Regions from separate parts of the Homo sapiens genome. Here all the other regions are linked to region 1. Evidence: promoter capture Hi-C in 16 types of primary human blood cells and fetal thymus (Javierre and others, 2016). All regions are on one chromosome and are shown on one strand. The core of a region is centred on a gene start or on the middle of the fragment in contact, and the rest is flanking DNA. Distances in the headings are between cores, read along the strand shown.

Region 1 (3,993 bases), core at 1,040-3,539:
TAGGAAAAATGCCACTGAGACGATGAGAAACAGCTCAACCCACCCTCCAAGTAGTGCTGTTTTTTTTTTTTTTTTTTTTTTTTTTTCTGGGTCAAACACACCGATTTCCCTAGGAAAACGCAGGCAGGATGAGTCGCCCAGCTACCCGCTTCCGGACCCAGGGCTCACACAGAAGCAGTTCCGACCGAAAGGCAAGAGCTTGTCCCAGGAGGTCATTTGCCTCCCTGACACCCCTCCCTTCGTCCTCAACAGATAAAAGCTGTGGCCCAGAAAGTGACCTCCAGAACTGCAACTAAACTCCAGATTTCGGCCCAGCCTTTGGAGACATTAAAGGCCACTCGAACATCATTCCAGACCTAGCCACGGAAGCGATGCCCGCCTCGCAGATTCATAGGGTTCTTAAAATGGTAATTTGGAGTAAAATGTAACTCAAAGAACTTTGAATCATTCATTAGCACCTTATAATTACTCTGCTAATTAGGTTGACACGGCACTTAATCAGGAGTAATACGCCGTCTTGTCACTGGCACTTCCCATTACTCTGACATTCAACATGAGACAGGTTGGAGACGTCCTAGAGAAAATAATGCAAGTTGATACACTCCAACGAGGCGTTACAGTCATGCTCCGGGTCCCAAGTGGATCCGCAGTGACTGTTTCCTTTCCAAATGAGCGCTCGCCGAAAGGGGCCGGGGGACAGAGGTGGACGGACTGCCGCGGGGCGCGGCAGGGGCGCGGGCTGCAGACCAGCCGCTATGGGTCCTGAGCCCCGCGCCCGCCCGACACCGCAGTGAACCGTGGCTGCCCTCGCCACCAGAGAACGCCTCGGGCATTAGCTCCCCCGTTCGGGAGAAAGCGTCTGGCCAGGCATTTTTTCCAGCTGGAGACCAGGCTGGTTCCCCAGCTTGGAGCCTCAGGCCTCGTCCTCCCCGAGAGCGCCTGGTGGACGCGGACCCGGCTGTGTCCCTCTCAGGGATCCGCCTCCCGCCGGGCTGAGCCCGAGCGCCTGGGTTCGTCGGGCGAGAAATCAGAGCCCAGAGCCGACCCGCCCGCTTATGCAAGGCTCCGGCGCCTGAAGTGACACACTTTTCTGTGGATTCCTTCAGGGATCTCCTTCCTCCGCTCTTAATGTCTTCGGACTATTCCCGCGCGCGTTTGGGGAGGCTGCGAGGGCCGCCGCGCTGGAGCCTAAAGGTAAGTCCCTTCCCGTCCTCTTCTCTCTCTCTTCTGACTTAAGAAAACGGGCGAATCCTTGCTACTTTTTTTTTTCTTTCTCCCCTTTGGTTCCCTTTCTCTGGTCTCCCTCTGATCTCTTCCTCCCTCTCCCTTTGCCTCGCACTCGTGATTGTGGACACCGGGACCACTGGACTCGGAGTTCGGCTCAGGGCTGCGGGCTCAGGGATGTGCGGGTTCTCAAAAGAGCAGCGGAGTCCGAGCCGAGTCCGCTGACGGGCTCACGAGCGCTGCGCCTATTGGCTCCCTGGCACGTCGGCGTCCCTCGCTCGCGCGGGCGCGGCCAATAGGGGCGCGGGGCCGGACGCGCGGCCTCGGTGGCGGGGGCGCGGGCCCGGCGCGGCGCGGCGCGGGGAGCGGCGGTAGTGGCCGTGACGTCACGGGAGGGGGTCGGCGCCGCCCGCCAGCAGCCGGATTACAAGCGAACGCGCCCGGCAGCGGCCGGAGTCGCCCGGCATCGCGTCTCCGCCGCTTCCTCCTTCTGTGCCTGCTCCTTCTCGTCGTCCTCCTCTTCCTCCTCCTCCTCGGGTTGCCGCAACCGCTGCGGCCGTGTCTGCCCCGCAACTTTCCAAGAAAGTTCAGAAACTCGGCTACGGGGCTGCCGAGTGGCGCGCGGCTGCCACCTCGGGAGCCGCGGGGGAGTTCCGAGGGCGCGCGGCCGCCCGGGCTTCGCGGTCGCTGCACCTGCCGCGTCCGCCGCCGCCACCGCTGCCGCCCGGTGCCAGGCTGTGGGCAGACCCCGGCAGCGGCGGCGGCGGCGGCTTTGGCGTAGCTTCCCGCCGCCTGCGCCTTCGCCTTCGCCTGCGCCTTCGCCTTCGCCTTCGCCTTCGCCTGGGTCCTCCGCGCCGCCACCGCCGCGCCACGTGCGCAGTCGTTCCTGGAGCGCAAGTTCCGAGTTTTCTCAGAAATTTTTTTAACTCCCCCCGCCCCCCGCATCTTTTTTCTTTCCACCCCTACTTTTTGCATAAAAGAAAAAAAGTTGTGTCGAAAGTATCCACAGATTGCCACTTCCCAATTACCCTTCCTTCTCTCCCCGCCCCACTTTTTTTTTTTTAAGCGGCGGCAACATTGTTTGGTGTTTATTTTGTTTTACGATCGATAGCTTTCTTCGCTGGTTCGGGGCGGCTGCTGAACGGCGGAGTGGCGTGGACCTCATGTAGCAATGACAATGGAAGGGGCCAGCGGGTCGAGTTTTGGAATAGACACGATTTTGTCCAGTGCCAGTTCAGGCAGCCCAGGCATGATGAATGGAGATTTCCGCCCGCTCGGTGAGGCCAGGACCGCGGATTTTAGGAGTCAGGCCACCCCATCTCCCTGTTCGGAGATTGATACCGTAGGGACGGCGCCTTCTTCTCCTATCTCAGTCACCATGGAGCCCCCGGAGCCGCATCTGGTAGCAGACGCGACCCAGCATCATCACCACCTCCACCACAGCCAGCAGCCGCCGCCGCCGGCCGCGGCCCCGACGCAAAGTTTGCAGCCTTTGCCCCAACAGCAGCAGCCGCTGCCGCCACAGCAGCCGCCGCCGCCGCCCCCCCAGCAGCTGGGCTCGGCCGCCTCGGCCCCCAGGACTTCCACGTCTTCTTTTTTAATTAAGGACATCTTGGGCGACAGCAAACCTCTGGCGGCATGTGCACCCTACAGCACCAGCGTATCCTCTCCCCACCACACCCCGAAGCAGGAGAGCAACGCAGTGCACGAGAGCTTCAGGCCAAAGCTCGAGCAGGAGGACAGCAAGACCAAACTCGACAAGCGGGAGGATTCCCAGAGCGACATCAAATGCCACGGTGAGTCCCGCCACCCGGCGCTCTCGGCCGTCTAGCTTGTCCTCCTGGTTCCCAATCTCCCCTTCAGCCTTCAGCAGATCTCTGCTGGGGAGCGATTCCAGGAGCTTCTCGGGCGACTGGGCGACGGTCAAAAGACTGCAGCTGAAGGGAGGCCTGGGCGTGCGATGTGGGGACTCCTCGAAGTTCTGTTTATTGTTCTACCCCACAACCTTCACGGCCATCCAGCTCCTTCCTTTGTTTTATTTAATTTTAATCTACTGGGGGTTGAGGGGCGGCGGAGGGCATCCGACAGGAAATACTTTTCGTTGATAAAAGGGATGGACTTGGGGTTTTTCTAGCCTAGACTTTGGGAATGGGAATGGGGGGAGGTAGGAGAGAGAAACCACTTAGCTAGCGTGGGTGTGATCACAACCTGGTGTTTATTCTTTAGTACAAGTGATTTCACCCCCCCCCCACTTTATTTTCTTAACATCATCACAGGAATTATCGGTTTTAATGGAGGAAAAATTTCTGAGTTCATGAACAGAGCAACTTTAAAAAAATTAGATTGTGGTTAGCCCGTAAAAATTTGTAATAAGTTTCTTAAAAGCACCCTTCTTACCCTATGGCCTCAACTGAGTATCTGTATCCTACAAAGATTTTTGGCCCCTTACAAGTACTTAGGAGGTAGTATTTATAAAAATAAAATCTTATGAAATTGGATTAATCTCTTTTTTGTTAAAAAAAAAATAAGATGACAATGGAAATTGTCCTTCAACTCCCTTTTTCCATTTTCTCATCAGACAATTTCATAAGTAAATGTGGTAGTCTTTGCATGGCAAAAGTTTTAACATACCAGGAGAGCTTTTTCTTCCTTTACAGACACATTGTTTATTATTATTGATCCTTGTTTTTCTGGTAAAGAAATGTACTGACTGGAAGGTAGGATGTTGGCTCCTCATTTTACTATTATAGCATTAGCATAATAGTGTCC
Region 2 (3,993 bases), core at 724-3,223, 230 kb before region 1:
TTCTTATTGTTACATAATTTTGCCATGTCTTTAAAGTTATGTCTTTGTAGGGCCTCCCTGCCCTCCTTGCCTTCATCCACACAGTTACCTGCTTCCGTTTACCACATGGGAGCTTCTTTAGATGTGTTAGATTATATTTAGTATTTACTATACTTTGCAGTAAGAATGATCTTGAGTTATTAGGTGTTTATGGTCTGGTACCTGACTTTGTAACATCTGCCTTCCTGTTAACAAGTGAGGATGGTACATGGCATCAGGAACAAGCTGTTCAACAGGTTCAGTGTAATTTGTTTGCTTTTTTTTAATGGCAATCTATATATCAAACTCAGTGCCTTTTTTGTTTTGTTTTGTGTTTTGGTATTGCCAAGGAAAAAAAAATCTCTGGCTGTAACATTGAGTTTTCATGATACAGTTAGCTCTGTGGCAGTGTGTTGGTCATTTAATGTCATATTTTCATTGTTCAACAATCAATTTATTGACAGATCATAAGTTAACTAAAGGATTATTTCAGGTAATTGTGAATTTAAAGAATACTTTTAAGGCTCAGTAGTGTAATTCTTCAGTTTTTTGCTCATTATTTCAAATAATGTTAAATGTTAATTATGTAATAACTAAGTACTAAACATTTGTAGTACATATTAGAAGGGACCTTAGAAATCATCTTATTCAATCCTCAACTCCATATTCCTGTCTGTAATGTTCTTGACAAGTAAGCAGTCTAACCTTCTGAACCATTTTATTATTTGGCTTGGTTTTAAAGTCAGTCTCATGCTGGACACCCTTACAAGTGTTCTGTATTTTTTTAGTGTTTCTTCTCAATGTGACATCCAGAATAAGTTATTACCTGGATGATACATTCTGTCTTCTCTTGAAGTGTGCACTAGGTGAGATTTAGGTATATATGTTTGTACATTGTGTATGGTATATATAGGTTTAAATGCCACAATAATTTTAAATATAATATTTCAGTTAATTAAGATCTGTTTTACAGTTAGACTGACACTTGTGAATTGTTTTCTCTTCTTGACCCAATCTCATACATTACTAACTGAAGTTGTCATGTGTTCACAAGGATAATTTAAATGAACATAGGGTTTGTGAAAACCTGACAGATCCTAACTATAATTCAGCTAGTGGGCAGCATTATAATTTATTTATAGCTGTGTAATATAGCAATTAATGAACTAATATACAATGAGGGCAAATTGTACTATATTTTGCATGAAATTATACAACACAACAAAGGTTGGCATTATGTAGTTAAGTACCCACAAAATGTTAACCTACTTGCAATAAATACAATTAATAATGTACATAAAAGAATGAAATTAAGCTAATTTTCTATCAGAAAAGAATTATTCGTGAACAGAAAGTGGACAGCATAGATTTGATGACAGAAAGGTTGTATCTAATCTGAATTACTGAGTGACCTAGGAAGCTTGCTCAGAGGGATTACAGAATAATTATGTTAATATGCAATTATCACCTCATTTCTTCTGTAGTAACCTCAAGATGTAGTGTAGTGAGGGTGTTATAGCAAGTGCTGATAGTTTGCAAAAATACTGATGTTTGAGATTTCTGAGACAATAAGTCTAGCTTGAGGCATATAAGTGATGATCTGTCATCTTGAAGACAGATCTGACCTTTGTACAATTTTTTTAGTGCTCACAGTATATAACTAGAGGCAGTTATAGCTGTAGAACTCATTATGATTTTCTAGAAATTGAAATATATTTTATGTAGATTTAAAGTTCTGTTTGCAGCTTTTTAAAAAGGTGTGTGAATTTTTTAGACTTTTAAAAACCAGTTAAAAGAAAAATTCTATGGTTATATGATTATATGGGGAAGATTTAGTAATGGTGTCTAAACAGTGTTTAAAAATCTTAATTGATATATAAGGAGTCCAAACATCAGTTTATTTATCTTAATTTATTAGCTTCTGTTTTTTAAACTTAATGAATAATGCCCACCTTCAAATACGTTCCTACTTTGTTATAGTAACCTAAACTGGTATTGATGTCTCTGTTATATATACATTTGACTATACAAAGGTAGTTGAAAAACTATTTGAGATGGTGTAAAATTAACTCAAGTCAAATGCTTTCTTGCCTAGATGCCACATAACCCAACATGAATGTAGTAAAATAATTTTTGATGATGTTAAAATTCTGTATCAATTATTCAGTGCAACAGATTTTGATGATCCATGGTTCTGCATTGTATCTCAGCACAACAGCTATGAGTCTTGAGTACTGTTACTAAGAAGAAGTATATTTGGAGCATTGTATAATTAGAATATATTCTGAACATTTTAATTGTTCCTAAAATAAGTACCCACAAAACGTTAATCTACTTGTAGTAAATGCAGTTAATAATGTACATAAAAGAACAAAATTAAGCTAATTTTCTCTCAGTAAAGAATTACTCATGAACAGAAAATGGACAGTATAGATTTGATGACAGGAAGGTTGTATCTAATCAGAATTACCGAGTGACCTAGAAAGCTTCCTAAGTCAACTTTTGTAACATATTTTCAAACTGATGCAGAAGGTAACATCTTTTATTTTTGAGTAGAGATAATTAATAATTTAGGGGTAAGTAAGCCATATTTTATTATGTGGATGTGAAGGAAAACTTTCATTGTTAAAGACTTCATTTTATATTTTAACAATATTTAATCGGATTTTTTTTTGCTAGATGTGTTTTGTAGATAAAATATCTGTTATGCACATATATTTTTTCTATGTTTTTGAACAAAACAGGTTGATATCTTCAGAATGTGACCTTATGAAAAGCTCTTATAAAGCCATTCCGGTAATGAGGATGCAGTCTCCAAGCTGACATGATGTTCTCATAGTTTGTCACCCTGCTGTTCAGGGGGTACCAATGAAGTTGCTTTAAATGGGAAGCGTCTGTTCCATCTCTAAACCTCTAACACCAGAACAGATGGGTGGAACATAGAACATGGAAGGTTTTACCTCTGAGGTGGTAACAGTGAAGCCACTCATTAACACTGAATTTACCACTTCGTTAGCAACATTGCTTCCTGTTGAGAAAAACTAATATAGGCTTTCAAATTGACTTAGCATATATTTGTCCACCTCTGTGATTATAATAAGTGGGAACGGAAAGGAAAGTAACTGTCTTTCAAGCTAGTTTTTTGTCGTTCGTTTCAGATTTATGAGATTGTTGCTATTGAAGCGTTTTATGTTTTCTACCTAATTTAATGAGAAATATCAGGAATGAATGGTAGTGTAGCATTAAGGCTTGCTTTTCTTTCCCTTGACATTTGCACACCCTTTCCTAACACATGTTTATGTGCTGCCCATTTTTAACTTCTGTGTATGTGATGTAGAGACTCCTGCTGGGTGATGCATTAGCACCATTTTGGAGTGATATCATTAAATGTGATCTTATTGGAAGTCTATTTTTATTACCACAGAAGTTTGCCAATCTCAAAACAGAATTCTAAAACCTACGAGGGGTGGAAAAAATGATTGTTGGTATAAAAAACAATGTCAAAGATACTGGTAATAGGTATTTGTTGTATTAAATAACATTTTATGGAAAGAATAAGATCAGATTATAAGTGCTTGTTCTAAGTTATAAAATAAGAAAAATATAAGAACAATTTTATTATTTTATTGTTTTTTATTTTTTGAGACGGAGTCTCACTCTGTTGCACAGGCTGGAGTGCAATGGCGCAATCTTGGCTCACTGCAAGCTCTGTCTCCCGGGTACACGCCATTCTCCTGCCTCAGCCTCTCGAGTAGCTGGGACTACAGGCACCCACCACCACGCCTGGCTAATTTTTTTTATTTTTAGTAGAGACGGGGTATCACCATGTTAGCCAGGATGGTGTCAATCTCCTGATCTTGTAATCCACCCGCCTCGGCCTCCCAAAGTGCTGGGATTACAGGAGTGAGCCACCGCGCCCAGCCTAAGAACAATTTTATTATTCTTGAATTAGATTTAATGTTTTACAAAGCATGA
Region 3 (3,993 bases), core at 478-2,977, 210 kb before region 1:
TAATTGGCCACACAGGACTGTAACAAGTACTAATGAACATATAGCACAGTATCAAGTGCTGAATGGGTTTGTAAGCCACTAGAAAAGTCATTCTTATGTTGTGGAAAGTGCTATGGGAGCACTTTCTGATGTGATAGAAAAAATAGTATTGTGAAAGCTTCCCAATGTGCATTAAATTATTTGTTCATTCATGAGTGTCACTGTAGTGTCTTTTAAAAATAATATAGTATTGCATGTTTGAAAAATTGCATGTTTTCATAGTGGTTCATTCAGACTGAAAGAGTGTAAGTAGAAAATTTTGATCTTCTTATTAAGATTAAACTCCAAATGAGCAAACTTGCTTCTGCTTAAAGCAAACTCCTTGACAATTCTTCCAGACTGGGCTGAGGAGGGTATGTGAAAAGTATGAGACATGTCTCTGCTGTCAGAGAAATTAGGAAAGGATTGTTGACAACATACATAAAACTATCAAAAATTGAAAACTATGCAAGATAGTATACAACTAAATGGCATATTGGCTTTAAGTGTTGTAGGAGTTCAGGTTGATTATTTTAGTCTAAGCCTCCTTTTGAGGGCAGCTGGGAATTGAGATTCCTTTTTTTTCTGATGCCCTTACTGTTTGTCTCATTGAATTAGAGCTTGTAAAAAACAGAAAAAATAAATAAATAAAAGTAGTTCATGCTGGTATGCTTCTTGTGACTTTTTAAATGCAAGAGAACAACAAAACCAGCAGCCATACAAAATTTTATTCATTCAACAAAAGTTTGAGTTCTTGTACCAAGACTGTTCATCGCTGAGCCAGTAAAGATACTGCACTCCAGCTGCATAAACATAATATAACCCAGTGGGAAAAGATCAAGTATGCCATTACAGAAGGGTTTATATGGTTTCAGCCAGACCCTGAAGTTGAAGGATGCAGTAGAGTTTTAGGAAGACGAGATGAAGTGTAGAATATTTCAGGCAGAGAAGAACATAGTGTGGACACAAAGGGATGAAATTTGGACTTCAAGTGTCAGGAGTGGAACTTGGAGTTCAAGTGTCAGAAGATTTGGTTACAGATGTTTGGTAAAATTGTAGTGCCAGAAAGGTGGGGTTGGTGCTTTGAATGCTTGGTAAAAAAAATTAGGAAGTCATTAAAGGATGTTTTAAAAATAAGGAGGCCGGGCGTGGTGGCTCACACTTGTAATCCCATTACTTTGGGAGGCTGAGGCAGGCACATCACCTGAGGTCAGGAGCGTGAGACCATCATGGTCAACATGGTGAAACCCTGCCTCTACTAAAAAAAAATACAAAGAACTAGCCAGGCGTGGTGGTATGCGCCTGTAATCCCAGCTATTCAGGAGGCTGAGGCAGGAGGATTGCATGAACCCAGAAGCTGGAGGTTGCAGTGAGCCGAGATTGTGCCATTGCATTCCAGCCTGGGCAACAAGAGCAAAACTCCTCAAAAAAAAAAAAAAAAAATCAGCCCAGTGTGGTGGTGCGCGCCTGTAATCTGAGCTACTCAGGAGGCTGAGGCAGGAGAATTGCTTGAACCTGGGAGGTGCAGGTTGCAGTGAGCCAAGATTGCGCCACTGCACTCCAGCCTGGGCGACAGAGTGAGACTCCGTCTCATAAATAAATACAAAAGGAAAATAGGCCAGGTGCCGTGGCTAACACCTGTAATCCCAAGCACTTTGGGAGGCCGAGGCAGGCGGATCACCTGAGGTCAGGAGTTTGAGACCAGCCTGGCCAACATGGTGAAACTCCGTCTCTACTAAAAAATACGAAAAAGTAGCCAGGCGTGGTGGTGGGCGCCTGTAATCCCAGCTACTCAGGAGGCTGAGGCAGGAGAATCGCTTAAACCTGAGAGGTGGAGATTGCAGTGAGCTGAGATCATGCTGTTGCACTCCAGCCTGGGCAACAGAGCAAGACTCCATCTCCAAAGAAGGAAGGAAGGAAGGAAAGAAGGAAGTGAAGGAGGGAGGAAGAGAGGGAGGGCAGAGAGAGAGAGAAGAAAAATAAGGGAATGGTATGGTTAAACTTATATTTTAAAAAGCCTTTCATGAGACAGAGAAAAGATGGGTCTTTATATTTCTTAGCTATAACTTATTTCTATAGTATTGTTCTTCATTAAGAGCATATATGTGTATACATTTATCTGCACAGTAACGTATCATTTATAAGTGATTAGCAAGGTAACGAATTATCTGAGTTGAGTAAATTCTCTAGGTGACTGAAGAATAGTCCTTTAACTGTTAATAACTTGATTTTTCCTAACCATTTTGGTGGTTATTGCTCCAAAATGTTGTTCTTATTTTTGCCTTGAGTAGCTTGGATATAATTTAATCGAGTATTTTGGGTAACCCTTATAGATACTCTACTAATTGTTTTATTATTCCAGCAAGAATTAGGCTATTTCTCCACCATACAAAAAAATGATCGGCTGATTTTTTCACTAATTCAACAAGCACTTTTTTCACCTCCAACTGTGCTAAGTATGCAGAGATACATTGGATCTTACAATACAGTAGAAGCACATATATGCATAACTGTAATACAAGACAAATTGTTAAGTGCCATTGGAGAGGTATGCGTGAAATACTGTGGAATTTCAGAGAAAGAGGAAGACACTTTCAGCTAGACTAGGAACTCCCAAGGCTTTTGGAATTAGCATTTGAATGGACCCTGATGTATAGCTAACTGAAATGGAAATGGGGGTCGGGGTGGGGAAGAGAAATGCCTGAAAGAGGGAGCAAGGTGGAACAATGTGGGAAGTTTATAGGAAATACTAGGAAGTAGGAGGTAAGGGAATTGAGTTGGACTGGTAAAGTGAGTCAGATAGATGACATAGAACGCTAGTCTAAGATGTTGGAATTAACTTTGTAGTGGGGAACTATTTGAATGCAGAATTTGTGTAATGCTTTTGAAATTGCTTTTTAAATAAAGGATTTGGCAGAGAGGAGGAAAAATTGCAGGGTAGATCATTTTAAGAGTCCTGTACCAGGTCAGTGACATTAAGAATGTAAAGGAGGGGTACTAGATGTATGGGTAATATTATGGAAATAAAATAAGCAGGATATGGTAGATTAGAGTTAAGAGATGACTCAAGATTTTAAATCTGAGTGGGAGGAGGATGGTTATACCAGTACAGTTAATCAATCTGCTACCATGCTGTCTGGTAGAAGGGCAGGCTTCATTACTTCTCTGTCATTTACTAGCAACACTTCAACATCCAGCTATCCACTATAACAAAGTATCACCTTAAAAGCAGGAGATCTACAAATTTGGAAAAGAGAGCTTTATTTCTTAGGAAGCTTGAAGCCTGCAGGCTTGGAAGTGTATCCTCAGACAGAGACCAAAAGCAAGCCCTTCAAAGGAGGAAGGGTGAGACAGGAAGTTATGTTGAATGGGTTGGCTAAGTATACATATTCAACAGATTATAGGAGGAGCTATGAATATTCATGAGGGGGTGCACACAAGCTTAGTGTGCACACTCCATGTTACATACATCCCATGTTCACTTTGAGTTGGAGACCTAACATTTAATCATAGTAAAATTAAGGTTTACATGTCAAAAGGTGAAACAGAGTTCATAGGCATCCTATGTGCAGCCTTCATGGACCAGCTAGAACCAGTTGGTGATCTCTTATCAGTAAGGAATGCTGGTCAGTTCAAAACCACAAAAACAGAGTGGAGTCTGGCTTCTGAGTTAGGCAATTGGTTGATATCAGTGGGGAGCAAGTCTTTTGAAAGGGTTGGTTTCTTTTTAACTCTTAGGAAGGAAAGTTTTATGGTGGTTAGTGAGGGAGGGGACCTAACGAGACTTGCTTTACCTCCTGTCCCATCATGGCTGGGAACTCAATTTTTAAGGTTTCTCTGGGGTCACCTTGGCAAAGAGGAGGGTGTCCATTCAGTCTGCTGTAGAACTTAGAATTTTATTTTTATTTCTCAAAAGCAAATAACCACACTTGTTGAATCAGTAAGTTTGTTTTTAGGAGAATATAGCCTAAGAGT

What was found. The method cuts DNA at HindIII sites, captures the fragments that hold promoters and counts their contacts. A CHiCAGO score of 5 or more calls a contact.
Region 2: a contact is called between a fragment that was not itself captured here and the fragment with the promoter of BARHL2 in region 1, in 1 of 17 cell types (erythroblasts). The highest score is 5.1, in erythroblasts.
Region 3: a contact is called between a fragment that was not itself captured here and the fragment with the promoter of BARHL2 in region 1, in 1 of 17 cell types (erythroblasts). The highest score is 5.0, in erythroblasts.

The regions. Positions count from the first base shown.
Region 1 is chr1:90,715,598-90,719,590 of GRCh38, reverse strand. BARHL2 (BarH like homeobox 2) reads left to right here and starts at 2,289. Exons shown (of 3, transcript NM_020063.2): 1 at 2,289-3,020. The coding sequence starts at 2,396. The HindIII fragment of the contact is 6,796 bases long and covers 1-3,993 here.
Region 2 is chr1:90,943,108-90,947,100 of GRCh38, reverse strand. All of the region lies in intron 2 of ZNF644 (zinc finger protein 644), which reads left to right. Among named protein-coding and RNA genes, the nearest start is that of ZNF644, 77 kb to the left of the region's middle. The HindIII fragment of the contact is 1,066 bases long and covers 1,441-2,506 here.
Region 3 is chr1:90,925,788-90,929,780 of GRCh38, reverse strand. All of the region lies in intron 4 of ZNF644 (zinc finger protein 644), which reads left to right. Among named protein-coding and RNA genes, the nearest start is that of LINC01763, 76 kb to the right of the region's middle. RefSeq lists enhancers at 1,065-1,670, 1,671-2,277, 2,379-2,991. The HindIII fragment of the contact is 3,136 bases long and covers 160-3,295 here.